4 separate regions of the Homo sapiens genome follow, and regions 1, 3 and 4 are each linked to region 2. The links are contacts of gene promoters, found by promoter capture Hi-C in blood cells and fetal thymus (Javierre and others, 2016). All regions are on one chromosome and are shown on one strand. The core of a region is centred on a gene start or on the middle of the fragment in contact, and the rest is flanking DNA. Distances in the headings are between cores, read along the strand shown.

The links. The method cuts DNA at HindIII sites, captures the fragments that hold promoters and counts their contacts. A CHiCAGO score of 5 or more calls a contact.
Region 1: a fragment that was not itself captured here is called in contact with the fragment with the promoter of NAPB in region 2 in 3 of 17 cell types (activated CD4 T cells, naive CD4 T cells and non-activated CD4 T cells); the score reaches 6.8 in activated CD4 T cells.
Region 3: a contact is called between a fragment that was not itself captured here and the fragment with the promoter of NAPB in region 2, in 1 of 17 cell types (activated CD4 T cells). The highest score is 11.1, in activated CD4 T cells.
Region 4: a contact is called between a fragment that was not itself captured here and the fragment with the promoter of NAPB in region 2, in 1 of 17 cell types (total CD4 T cells). The highest score is 6.5, in total CD4 T cells.

What each region holds. Positions count from the first base shown.
Region 1 is chr20:17,678,353-17,681,052 of GRCh38, reverse strand. RRBP1 (ribosome binding protein 1) reads left to right here. Exons shown (of 25, transcript NM_001365613.2): 2 at 978-1,054. Among named protein-coding and RNA genes, the nearest start is that of RRBP1, 2.5 kb to the left of the region's middle. RefSeq lists enhancers at 1-126, 318-1,517. The HindIII fragment of the contact is 811 bases long and covers 987-1,797 here.
Region 2 is chr20:23,420,046-23,422,763 of GRCh38, reverse strand. It overlaps NAPB (NSF attachment protein beta), which reads left to right and starts at 1,276. Exons shown (of 11, transcript NM_022080.3): 1 at 1,276-1,459. The coding sequence starts at 1,362. RefSeq lists an enhancer at 898-1,087 and silencers at 1,338-1,427, 2,058-2,287. The HindIII fragment of the contact is 2,788 bases long and covers 477-2,718 here.
Region 3 is chr20:17,964,150-17,966,849 of GRCh38, reverse strand. All of the region lies in intron 1 of SNX5 (sorting nexin 5), which reads left to right. Among named protein-coding and RNA genes, the nearest start is that of SNORD17, 2.6 kb to the right of the region's middle. RefSeq lists an enhancer at 561-640. The HindIII fragment of the contact is 815 bases long and covers 1,038-1,852 here.
Region 4 is chr20:17,570,081-17,572,780 of GRCh38, reverse strand. It overlaps DSTN (destrin, actin depolymerizing factor), which reads right to left. Exons shown (of 4, transcript NM_006870.4): 1 at 2,570-2,700. The coding sequence starts at 2,572. Among named protein-coding and RNA genes, the nearest start is that of DSTN, 1.4 kb to the right of the region's middle. RefSeq lists silencers at 2,266-2,555, 2,576-2,700. The HindIII fragment of the contact is 938 bases long and covers 982-1,919 here.

The sequences.
Region 1 (2,700 bases), core at 143-2,642, 5.7 Mb after region 2:
GTCTGCGCTTCCAGTGGGGCGCCCGCAGTGCTTCAGGGACCCCTCTCCGAATGATAAGTCGCGAGTTTTAGCTCTAGAGTGCCCCGGCTGGCGAGGGTGACCCCGACCAAGTTGTTTCGTTCGGGGTCTCCATTTCCTGGTCTGCAAATCGGGGCTCCTGTTAGCTTCGATTTGCGAGGAAAGCTGTGGAGACCCAGCACTTGTAGGAAGGAGCCACAAGTGTTGGCTGTTCAGTTGGGATGCTTTTGTTGGGGGGTGCTGGACACGGGAGGAAGGTGGGGCCTGGCTCCGGCACTGCGGCGGGCGCGGGGCTGCAGAAGTTGCACAGCCGGGGTTCTACACCCCGGACCACGTACTGGCCGCCTACTCGCAGGTCCCATAGCCCCTCTGAATCCTAGTTTCTTATCTGTGGCCTGAAGACAGCACCACCCACTCACAGGGTCGGGAACCACGCCGGGAAGTGCTGGGACCTTGTACAAACAGAAGGCAATTTGGCAATTACTCTGAGAGGTCAGAGGTTAGGAGAGACTGGGAAGCACCAAGGAAATGAAACTCTGAGGGACCTGAGGAGCCTCCCACGTCACTGCTCAGCTATTCACTCTGCGTGCTGGAACCTTCAGGGTAGGGGCCATCTGGATGGCATTTTCAGGAATTTGGAGAAATGGGCCTGGTAGGGCCTCATATCTCACATTAGATACCTCTTCAGAACTGGGTGTCCCCAGAGACCCAGGACGTCTGTCTGGCACTCCCAGGAAGAACAACTGCGAATGTTACCCCGCCCTGTGCAGCTGGGGGGCATTCTCCCACTGCCCCGCCTCCCTCCTCACACTCCTTGTTTGATTTAACTTCCTGTTAATCCGACACCTAGAGAAATCTGTGACCCTGCAGCATGTCACTTACTGTGTGATGTCTTGACTCGTTTACGAACTTGCCAAAGGTCACTCCCACTATCATATGCCAACCTCTTTCCCTTCCAGAAAGAAGCTTCCGGTTCTGAGGTCCTGGAGGTGCCATTTCCCTCTCTGTTGAAGCAAAGGCCGGGGCAGACCTCCTAGTAGGTGAAGTTTTCCTTTTACATGGAGCACCGCAAAGCCGGCTTGCAGGGATCTTGGGCCAGTGGAGGCCTGGAGGAGGCTAAGGTTGGGGGAGGGGAAACCAGAAAGGGATCTTGGGGTTTAGGAGAGGGTTTAGAGCTCTAGGCACTATAACAACTCTCACCTTTCATACTTAGGAATCTGCCTCTGAACATTTACAGAGAGATTAAGAAGTTACAGTGGTTCATGGTATATGAGTATTTTTTGGTGATGGAAGAGTTTTAAATAAATCTTAAATCAAGTCACATTTGAGCAATTATGCTCTTTAATGAAATGAGCCCTAACTCAACAGGCTGCAATAATTACATAGCAGCAAACTCAGTTTAAATGGTTGAATGCCAGTGATTGAATTGGAGTATTGATTTATTATGTAGCAGGGACACCTTTTAAAAGTGTCGGGACCCCAGACTCTTCTTGTCTTTTTAGCCCTGGGAATTTTAACTAATAGATGAATGACACATAGAGGATCAACAGTTCTGTTGAGACAGCAAGTTTTTCTTTGCTAAAATCTTGTTTCAGGAGAAACAAAAATAATGGTCAAGTCAGAATGATGAAGGCAGGGACTGTGCTGTCCGTCTGTGCATGCTGGGCCTGCAGTGGTTAAGGCCTGGCCTATAACATCATAAATATTGGTTATACCAGGCGGACAGCGCCCCCATACCTGTTAAACTATTCCCAGCTGTCTCATTGGATAAATGAAGCTTAGCCCAACTTGGTTTTTAAGGTTCACTTTTTAGAATCAGATTCCACAACTGTGGTTTACATTTAGGCCTTAAAATAACCCTGTTCTAGGGGGTGGGAATGGTTGTCACCCATTCAGTGGATGAGAATGTGGAGGTCCAGCTGGTCAGAAGGTTGTCAGGCCAGTTCCTGTTGCCCAGTTGCTAGGCGATGTGGGCCCGGCCTTCCAAATGTTCCCTCCTGGCTATATACCTCCACCTTCCTGGGGCAATAATTACCCAAGGGAGGACACAGAACGTGAAGATCAAAATTAAGAGCTTCAGTGGCAGGAAGGTGGGGAGGCATTTTGAAAATCTGGCAGTGCTGAAGGTATTTTTCATTTCATTTTTTTCACCGAGGGTCTCCTGTGTGGTGGGCCTTCAAACACCGCAAGTGAGACCTAGTTCTTGCCTGAAAAAGCTACTGTCTAGAACTGTGTTGTCCAATACAGTAGCCACAAGTAGCAATTTAAGTTTAAAACAATTCAAATTAAGTAAAATTAAAAATTCAATTTCTGAGTCAAATTAGCCACATTTCAGGTGCTCAGTAGTCATAAGTTGGTCAGCGTGGCTGTAGATGGTTTCCACCATCACAGAAAGTTCTAGACAGTGCTGATGTAGAGGCAGCTGGTATTCTGTAAACATTCATGTCCCTGTTCCTCTTGATCATGTGGTAATATGTTGAACCACATGAAATTGCCCATTCTGTAGGTCAAAACCAGTTGACTAGTGGCAGTTGATACACTTCACCTGATAAGATCTCACCCTGAGAAAGCATTAGTCCCGCCTCTTTGTGTGCATTGTAAACTGCATTCCAAGAAAAAGGAGTGGGAGGGGGGCCACACAGATAGTGGCCCTTTCCTGGAGAGATTTTTTACCCAATGCCC
Region 2 (2,718 bases), core at 27-2,526:
CAACACACTGATTTACTTAGGAGCTTTTGACTTAGCCTCACTCCATTAAGCCCCCATAGACTGCTCTGCTTTCCAAATGCTTATGTTCACTTTTTACAGTTTTTCTCTGGTCTCCCCTGCATTTACGGTCACCTCCAATTTCCCGCCTCCTTCTCTCTCCAAAAACACACAGCTCAGCTTTTCAAAGTTAGAATAATGCATGTAGTAATCGTAAATAAACTGCACGAAGAGCTGAGATTTCTTTCTATCTCTACGGAGTCCTGAAATGTATGAACTCTGTGACATGTGCTTTAGTCAACTTTCTTTCTAGGAGTTTGGCCCCTCTTGCCTTGCCCTCTACAGACAGTCTTCATTTTCTAAAATTTTGCATGCCAGTGCCCAGAGTGTATTTATTAACAGTTTGAAACTGTCATAAATCTCACTTGGCAGTGATTTTCTTATTAGTTTCAGCATCTCTGCCTTAGCACTGCCAAGCTTGAATGGTCTAGACATTGTCTTCAAAAATAACTCCCTCTGGGACAGGCCTGAAAGTCTCTGGCACAGGATCCCATCTATCTATGGATACTTCTCCTAGGAGATTAGAAGTCTTCCTGGCAGGCAAACATTTTGTCCCTGGAGATCCATCCACTATGGCCAGTATTATGTAAAGGATAAGAGTTCAATGGTTCACATCCATTGAATATAATTCAGTCAACAAAAGAGTGGATTATGCATATATTGCATATATGCAACTCATTTATAACCAAGGAAGAGAGGACCAACAGAAAGTTACAGTTTGGGGAGATTTAAAAATAACTGAACTTATATTGGGGACGTCTTGCTCTTGGAGATAAAAATGGCTCTTATTGCCAGCTGTTGCTCGTTTTTTGGTGGGCGGTATCAAGCATGTGATGCTTTGGTGGCTACACCAGATTCTCTTTTGCAGAACTTGCATGAAGGGTGTGGGTTCCATCCAATCTGTTATCCCCTGTTCCTTCATCCATCCCATTGCCATGCGAGTCTTACTGAGGAGGTGATCTTTACTAGAGGCCACGGATCATTTTTCCATTTCTGCATACATACAAAATTAAAGTTCACCTTGGCCCAGGACCCCTTTGGGGGGGTCACGCCCCCTGCGCCGACGTCCTGGGAGCTAGCGGTGCGCAAGCTCGGCTCACACACACCCCGCCCCGGGGCCTCCTGGGAACTGTAGTAGGCGGCTCGCGAATCCCCGCCGCCATGACAGGACCCGGACTACAGCTCCCGAAAGGCCTCGCGCGTCGCGCCTGCGCCTGCGTCCCTGCGGCCGCCAGAGGGAGGGTTAAGGCGCCTGGGCGCACAGCGAGCCGGCTGAGGGGGCTGTGGCGGCCGCGGCGGGCGACATGGACAACGCGGGGAAGGAGCGTGAGGCAGTACAGCTGATGGCGGAGGCCGAGAAGCGAGTCAAGGCCTCCCACTCCTTCCTCCGAGGGCTGTTTGGGTGAGCGCCAGACCGTGCGTGCCCTGGGGGGGGGGGGTCTCCGTACTTGGCCCCCTTCCTTTCAGGCTGACCCCCCGAGTCCCCCACGCAACCTCTGGGGCCCTCAGACCACGTCTAGGGGCCCTCAGCCTGCAGGCGCCCTCCAGAAATCCTGTAGGGTCCCCCAGCGCCCCCTGGAGCCCCCAGGACGCCCAGGGGCCCTCAGTCCGCACGCGCCCTCCAGAGACCCCACAGGCCCCCCCAGGGTCCCTGGAAACCCCGCATCCTCCCAGGGGCTCTCAGCCCCCACGCGCACTTTAGAGACCCCCTAGGGCCGGCAGAACTCCCCAGGGTTCCTCAGCCCCCACACGCTCTCCGGATCCCCTAACACGCCCCCTTAGAATCCCCAGAGTCTCACAGGGACCCTCAGCCCCCACGCGCCTTTCAGAGAACCCCTAGGACCCCCAGAGCTCCCCAAGCGCCCCACGAAGCCCCTAGAACACTCTGGGGGGGGGGCTGTCAGCCTCACGCGCCCTCTGGAGACCCCAGATCGCCCCCCTCGCCCTGGCCCGGGTTGGTGCGGGGGTCCCACGACCTAGAAGGTCAGCGGCTCCCTGAGGCCCGCGGGCGCGGTAGCTCGGGGCGCGCGTGGGGCCCCCTTCTCAGTGCGTAGCGAGTCGTATTGGTGCATTTCGCCACGCTGAAGCCCGTATCGCTCCTGAGACCGGTCCGGGTGAGGCGCGCCGGGGTGGAGCCGGAGGGGTGGGTGCGGGGGCCGCCCCCGGCGCCTGGAACGCGCACCTGGGGGCGTCCCGCCTGCAGGTGGGCCCCGCCGGGGAGGGGGCGGTCCGGCGAGGGATCCAGAGCTGGTGTGCTTGTTGGCCTCTCTCCAGGGGCCTTGCGCCGAGTACACCTTTAGTAAATACTTGACTAATGAACGAATATATTTTCTCAGCATAGTATTTTTCCTTCTCCGGAGATTGATTGATAGCCAGAGCCTCCTGTTTGATTAACGGTAACGCTGCTGCTGTTTAAGTCAGGCGTCCTTTGGGAATCCCTTTAATTTCCTGTAATTCTTCCGTGCTCTCCTAAGGAGGATTTTAAATTCCAACCTCTCAAAAAGCAGAGCCCGCACTGACAGCCCGGAAGAATTCTGGGCTGTTGAATATGTGAATGATTCAGCTGTTTAGGATGAGAAAGGCAGAAATTTTGTGTGTGCCTGTTTCGTTGTTTTCTTTTGAAAGTGAAAGATCCTTTGCTGTTACCAAGAGCAGATACTT
Region 3 (2,700 bases), core at 196-2,695, 5.5 Mb after region 2:
GTTAACTGAAAGGGAGTTTGGGGCAAGTATGAAATAATGGGAAACTAAGTCTTGGGCAACTTTTTGCCATAATACAATTTCGGTAGTCAACTGAAATGTTTTGTGTGTTACCTGAAATGTGTGTTACTTAAATTGTTTAAATGCCCTCCTGATAATTTACTTTGGTTTGGAATTCTCCCTAAGGATGGAGTTAATTAAGACTCACTAAGGTAGGGGGACATACTTGATTCTTCAGGATTTTGAATTCTAGCCCAATACTCATTTTGGCCAATTCAGCAAAACTGAAAGGGAATACTGTGTCAGTCGTGTCTGGTAGCCAGACACTGGCATTTTGTTACATTCTTTAGCCGAGGGTGTTGGGGTTTGCCTTCTTCCTCAGAAAATAGTTCAGGGGAAGAGATGCATGGTTAATTTGGTTCCTAACTGGTCCTCTATTTACTGGTTTTTGATTTTTTTTTTTTTTTTGAGACGGAGTCTCGCTCTGTCGTCCAGGCTGGAGCGCAATGGCTCGATCTCAGCTCACTGCAACTTCCGCTTTCTGGGTTCAAGCGATTCTCCTGCCTCAGCCTCTCAAGTAGCTGGGATTACAGTCGCTCACCGCCATGCCCGGCTAATTTTTGTATTTTTGTGGAGACCGGGTTTCACCATGTTGGCCAGGCTGGTATTTGAACTCGACCTTCGCAGCCTAGTGCTATTTTTAACTAGGGGGTTCTCCTTCCTTGACAGTAACAACTTGGCCTTAACTTACTGCTTGGTTACAGGGACTTTGGTGAATGATATCTGTCCTCTTACCTACTCAGGAGTGTTTGTAGACTAAGTACTGCTGCTCTGGTTTCGTGTTTAACTGGTGTGGAAGCTGCCTCTAGGGGTATTTTTGTTCTCCATTAGCTAGAATGGAGTGCAGTTGGTTAGTATAGGAACAATCCTGAACTTTGACCAATACCATAGCAAGTCCAAACTTACAAACTTTGTGGACTGAAGCTTTATGCTACCCTTGCAACTATTTTCTAAGTTGAGGAAGTATGACGTATCAAGCTTCCCACGCCTTAGTTCTAGTTCAGTAACTTGTACTCGGTGTCTTAAGATCCCCATTTGTGAATACTCTAAAAGGTCATTATCTGTTCACATTATTTTGGCCATAGGTAGAAATGGCCAAGAGGCTTTTTTTTTTTTTTTTTTGAGACAGGGTCTGGCTCTGTCACCCAGGCGGGAGTGCAGTGTCACGATCACAACTCACTGCAGCCTCGACCTGGGGAGCTCAGGTGATCACCCCCACCTCAGCCTCCTGAGTAGCTGGGGCTACAGGCACACACCAGCATGCCCACCTAATTTTTGTATTTTTTGGTAGAGATGGGGTTTCACCATCCAGTTCAACATGCCGGGATTACAGGCATGAGCCATTGTGCTTGGCCAAGGCTGTTAAGTTTTCTAGATTTGTTTCTGAGCTGTAAACTCCTCATTCGGTGAGACCTAGTGGTCATCTAAACTAGAGGTTGAGTTTAAAATTCAGTTTCTCAACCTGGGGAGCACTGTTGACATTTTAGCCTGATCACTTTTGTTGAGGAGTGCCCTCTGGGTTGTAGGATGTGAAGCAACTGTTTTTGGCCTCTGCTAGGACGCGGCCTCCTCCCCTCCCATGGTGATAAGAAGTCAAAATTGCCTGTTTGAGAATCACTGGTTTAAACGGACTTCCTTCTAAAATGGTGTGATATGGGTGGGGTCAGGTTGTGTTACAGAAGCTAGTCTTTGTGTGCTTGTTGCGAATTTTTCAGGTTTTCTATTAATCTTGCCTAAGGAAATAACATGCCATGTAAAAATTAGCATTGTTGGATATCTTTGTGAGAATAAAGCTTTTCCACTAATACTGAGGAACCTTAACAAAAGGTGGTGAAAGATGGTTTTCTTCAGCAGGTTCTGGGTACTTGAGGGTTGCAAAGGGAGGGCTTCGTGTTTGTGTTTGTGAGTGTAGGCTTTGGACACTGGAAACTTACCTGAGTTTCTTGTGCTGCAGAGGGGAACTTGGTTTAAAATTCTGCTGTTTCAGCATTTTTCTGTCTTTATTATCAGGGTCTTGATGCTCGAGCAAATTAGGTGAGAACAGATCTATAGGTTAGTACCCTGAATGTCTTAAATAGCCCGTGGTCACAACAGTGTGTAGTGAAGTTAAATAGTATTTAAGGAAACAGTCTAACTTTTAATGATCCCAATAGTGAGAAACGGCTATTAAAGTGTAAATTAAGTTTCTCTGCATGATCTAACTTTCCAAAAAGTGGCTTCTTCACCCTTAATACCTGTTTTCTGATTGGCCATTGAGGTACTCTGACAAGATCTCCTAAAAGAGATCTTCACACCTTCACATGCTGCCTAAAGGCAAACCATAGTACCCCAGGAGGAGTAAGTTGCAGTTTGAGGGGCAGCCAACACTTAAGTTTAAAAATGGGGGTCCTTGGCTTGACTCTTCTTTTTACATTTTGGCATAACTTTTTTAGGCATTCCTATATGGTCTGGAGAGAAAACTAATTTTCTGCCTGAAAAGCTCAGTTTCTGAAGGGCACACTCCTAAGCATTCTAGTCATGGTAAATGGTGAGGAATACAAATCCAGATGGCTCCCTTGTCAGGGTTTTCACTTTTTCTTTCAAGAGCACCGCAGAGCTAGGACATTGTGCTGTTAGATACTTGGTAGCTGGTGGGTGATAAAA
Region 4 (2,700 bases), core at 201-2,700, 5.9 Mb after region 2:
TTAAAACTTGGAGTTGGAAAAGGTGATTTGTCTCAAGTCAATTAATCCTTTACAATCTGTTTTCTCATATGTTAAATAGGCATGTGAATACATGCCCAACCTATTTCACTGGGTTGTAGTGTTTTTGCTAATCACCAAGTATTAGAATACTTGAATACTGCGCCAATTAGTTCAGTCTGTGAGACCACAGTCCAGATTAGGATAAGGTTAAGGGTTAGATTATCGTGCAAACCTTTTAACTCTACTTCAGGGGCAAGACTACACTCTTACTTTCCAAGAAGCATAAAAGATACTCTGGTTACAAGAGGAGCTAGGCAAGTCTAGGTGTGATGTCTCAATCCATATCCAGTAGAACTACTGAGCAAATAACCTTAGTAACTTGATGATGGGCTACTAAACAATCTCTGTATAAGGAGGCTGGCACACCCAGTACACACACACACACGTTTTGTTTGGGGTCTGTAATTGTGGTTCACGTGGAGGCAGACGTTGTTTGTTTTTTGTTGGAGGAGACATCTGAAAACATCTAATCTCATCCTGAAGCGCCCAGCTGGTTTCAAACTGCTTTATTTCAGGTGCTTCTAAAAGACTTGGTGAGTACAAGGAAGTGATTCTGCTAATTTAGAACAAACCCATCGGTAGTTAAAATTTAATCTTAAAAGAAACTTGGAACCAAGCATCTAACCAAAAGAGCTAAAAGCAAAGTGCTAGACTCTGGGATAATACCCACAATATTCTCTAATCACTGAACTAAACAAAGATGCTCCTGCGCTCATAAGGCTAAAAACAAAAATAACCTTTAAAAATGGGGGGTCTATAATCTGAACTCTAAGAGTAACTTGTAAGGTCTTCTTGATCTCCCTAAAGCCAACAATTTTGAAGCGTATTTGGAAATCGCTCATTTCTAATTTTTATTTCTCCCACTCCTCACAAGAACCAGGAAATATAACAGACCCTTCCTTCCTTGAATTTAGTTAAGCTTTAACTAAAACTAAGCATTTAACTAAAGGTAAAATGTTTGGTCTCTTATTTTCAAACAGAAAAATAAAGTCTGTATTAGCCACTCAATAAAAAAGCATAATGTCAAATCAGAAGTCTCTAGAGCAGACCCTAGTCAGCTTCAAAGCACTTTCACAGAGTGAATGGTCTTAAGCGTACCATAACTCAAAGCCCCTAGATTAAGTCTTTCAGTATAAAGTAGCATATACATTTAAAATGTTATTAAATTTCTAATAATTAGATATTAAAAAGACTCAAGATGCTGATACTTTGTAGCTTACAGCATTAAACCAAAGAAGAACCAAAAACTGAACAGTATCAAATCCCTATTACATACATATCTACAGTCATCAAGAAACTACCGGTTTATCTTTTCTTTCACTAAGGGGCCGCCTGCATGTTCACGGAAGTTGTAGTAACTTAAGAAAACCAAAACTGTTATACAGTGAAAACAGTTTGTATGCAGATAAGCTGGTACCAACTGCTTCTAGACAGATGCAATTACAGTGTAATATTTCTAGCAAAGTCTGGTAAGGCTACGCCTGCAAATCACTGACCAAAAATGGTAACAGTGTGTGCACACTAACGAAAACGACAAAATGTTCCAACTGATAGTTCAGTTGAGAATACGTTTTTAAATAGCTAATTAGAGTGACAGTGTAAAGGGGGAAAATATGTAAATTAAGCAAAATGTCCATCATATAGAATATACTAATGAGCACCTGTTTACTTTCTGGTGACTCCAGTATTTTAATGGTTTTTAAAGCTCTTAAATTTGGTTGTATCAGCATCCCAGCATCATGCCCACACCTTGCGCACCAAGTTCTGGCAGAGTCCAACTGTCTACAGGTCAGAAAAAAAATTCTAACCATACACGGACAGATCGGGCAGGGAAGGGTTAAAACAGACACTGCCAAGCTTGACAAGCACGACGAGAGTGCTGCTGGAAGCCGATTGCCAGATAAAAAGAAAAAAACAAAGGAGCTGCAAGGCCACCCCGTTCTAAATCATGCCAGGATCCTGCTCGTTAGCGATCATTCCGTGCTCTAGGACTGTTCCATAAAGGCTTTATCTTCCTTATTGAGATGGACAGACCTCAAGGGCTGGAACGCGCACAAGTCACCAAGCGCCTCAGCGCCAGCTCTGGGGAAACCCACGCCAACAAGGACGGTGGCCGGATTCCGACGCCCCCCGCCCCCCACTCCCCGGCCTCGGTGTGCAGACCCCCGGATGGATTTCACAGAGCGGGTGGGGGCGCTCGACCCCAGCCAGTTGTTGCAAGGCCGGGTCTGGAGACACCCGCAGAGGCCACGCTCAGGGCGGCGGCCTCGCCCCAGCTGGGAGCTGCGCAACAGCCGCGGATCCACCCCGGGGCGCGGGGGCCCAGCCAGGACGGCGGGAGACGGAGGCCCAGAGACCCCCCCTCACCCGCAGCCCGGACACTGCAGCCGGACCGGGTCCCTCCCCGGGCTGAGGCACGGCTCACCCCCTTAGCCCCGACTCCGCGGCGCCCCAGAGACACACTGCTCCCGGCCGCCTCGGCCCACGCCTCGGCCTCCCTCCTACTCACCATCTTCGCCGCGGCGGTCGCAGGGACGCGGGGGAGGGAGCCGGCGGGCAGCGAGTATGCAGACCGTCCTCCTCACGGCTGCGGGACCGAGAGACCCAGCGCTGAGCTGACGCGGCGGCGCGAGCTTACCC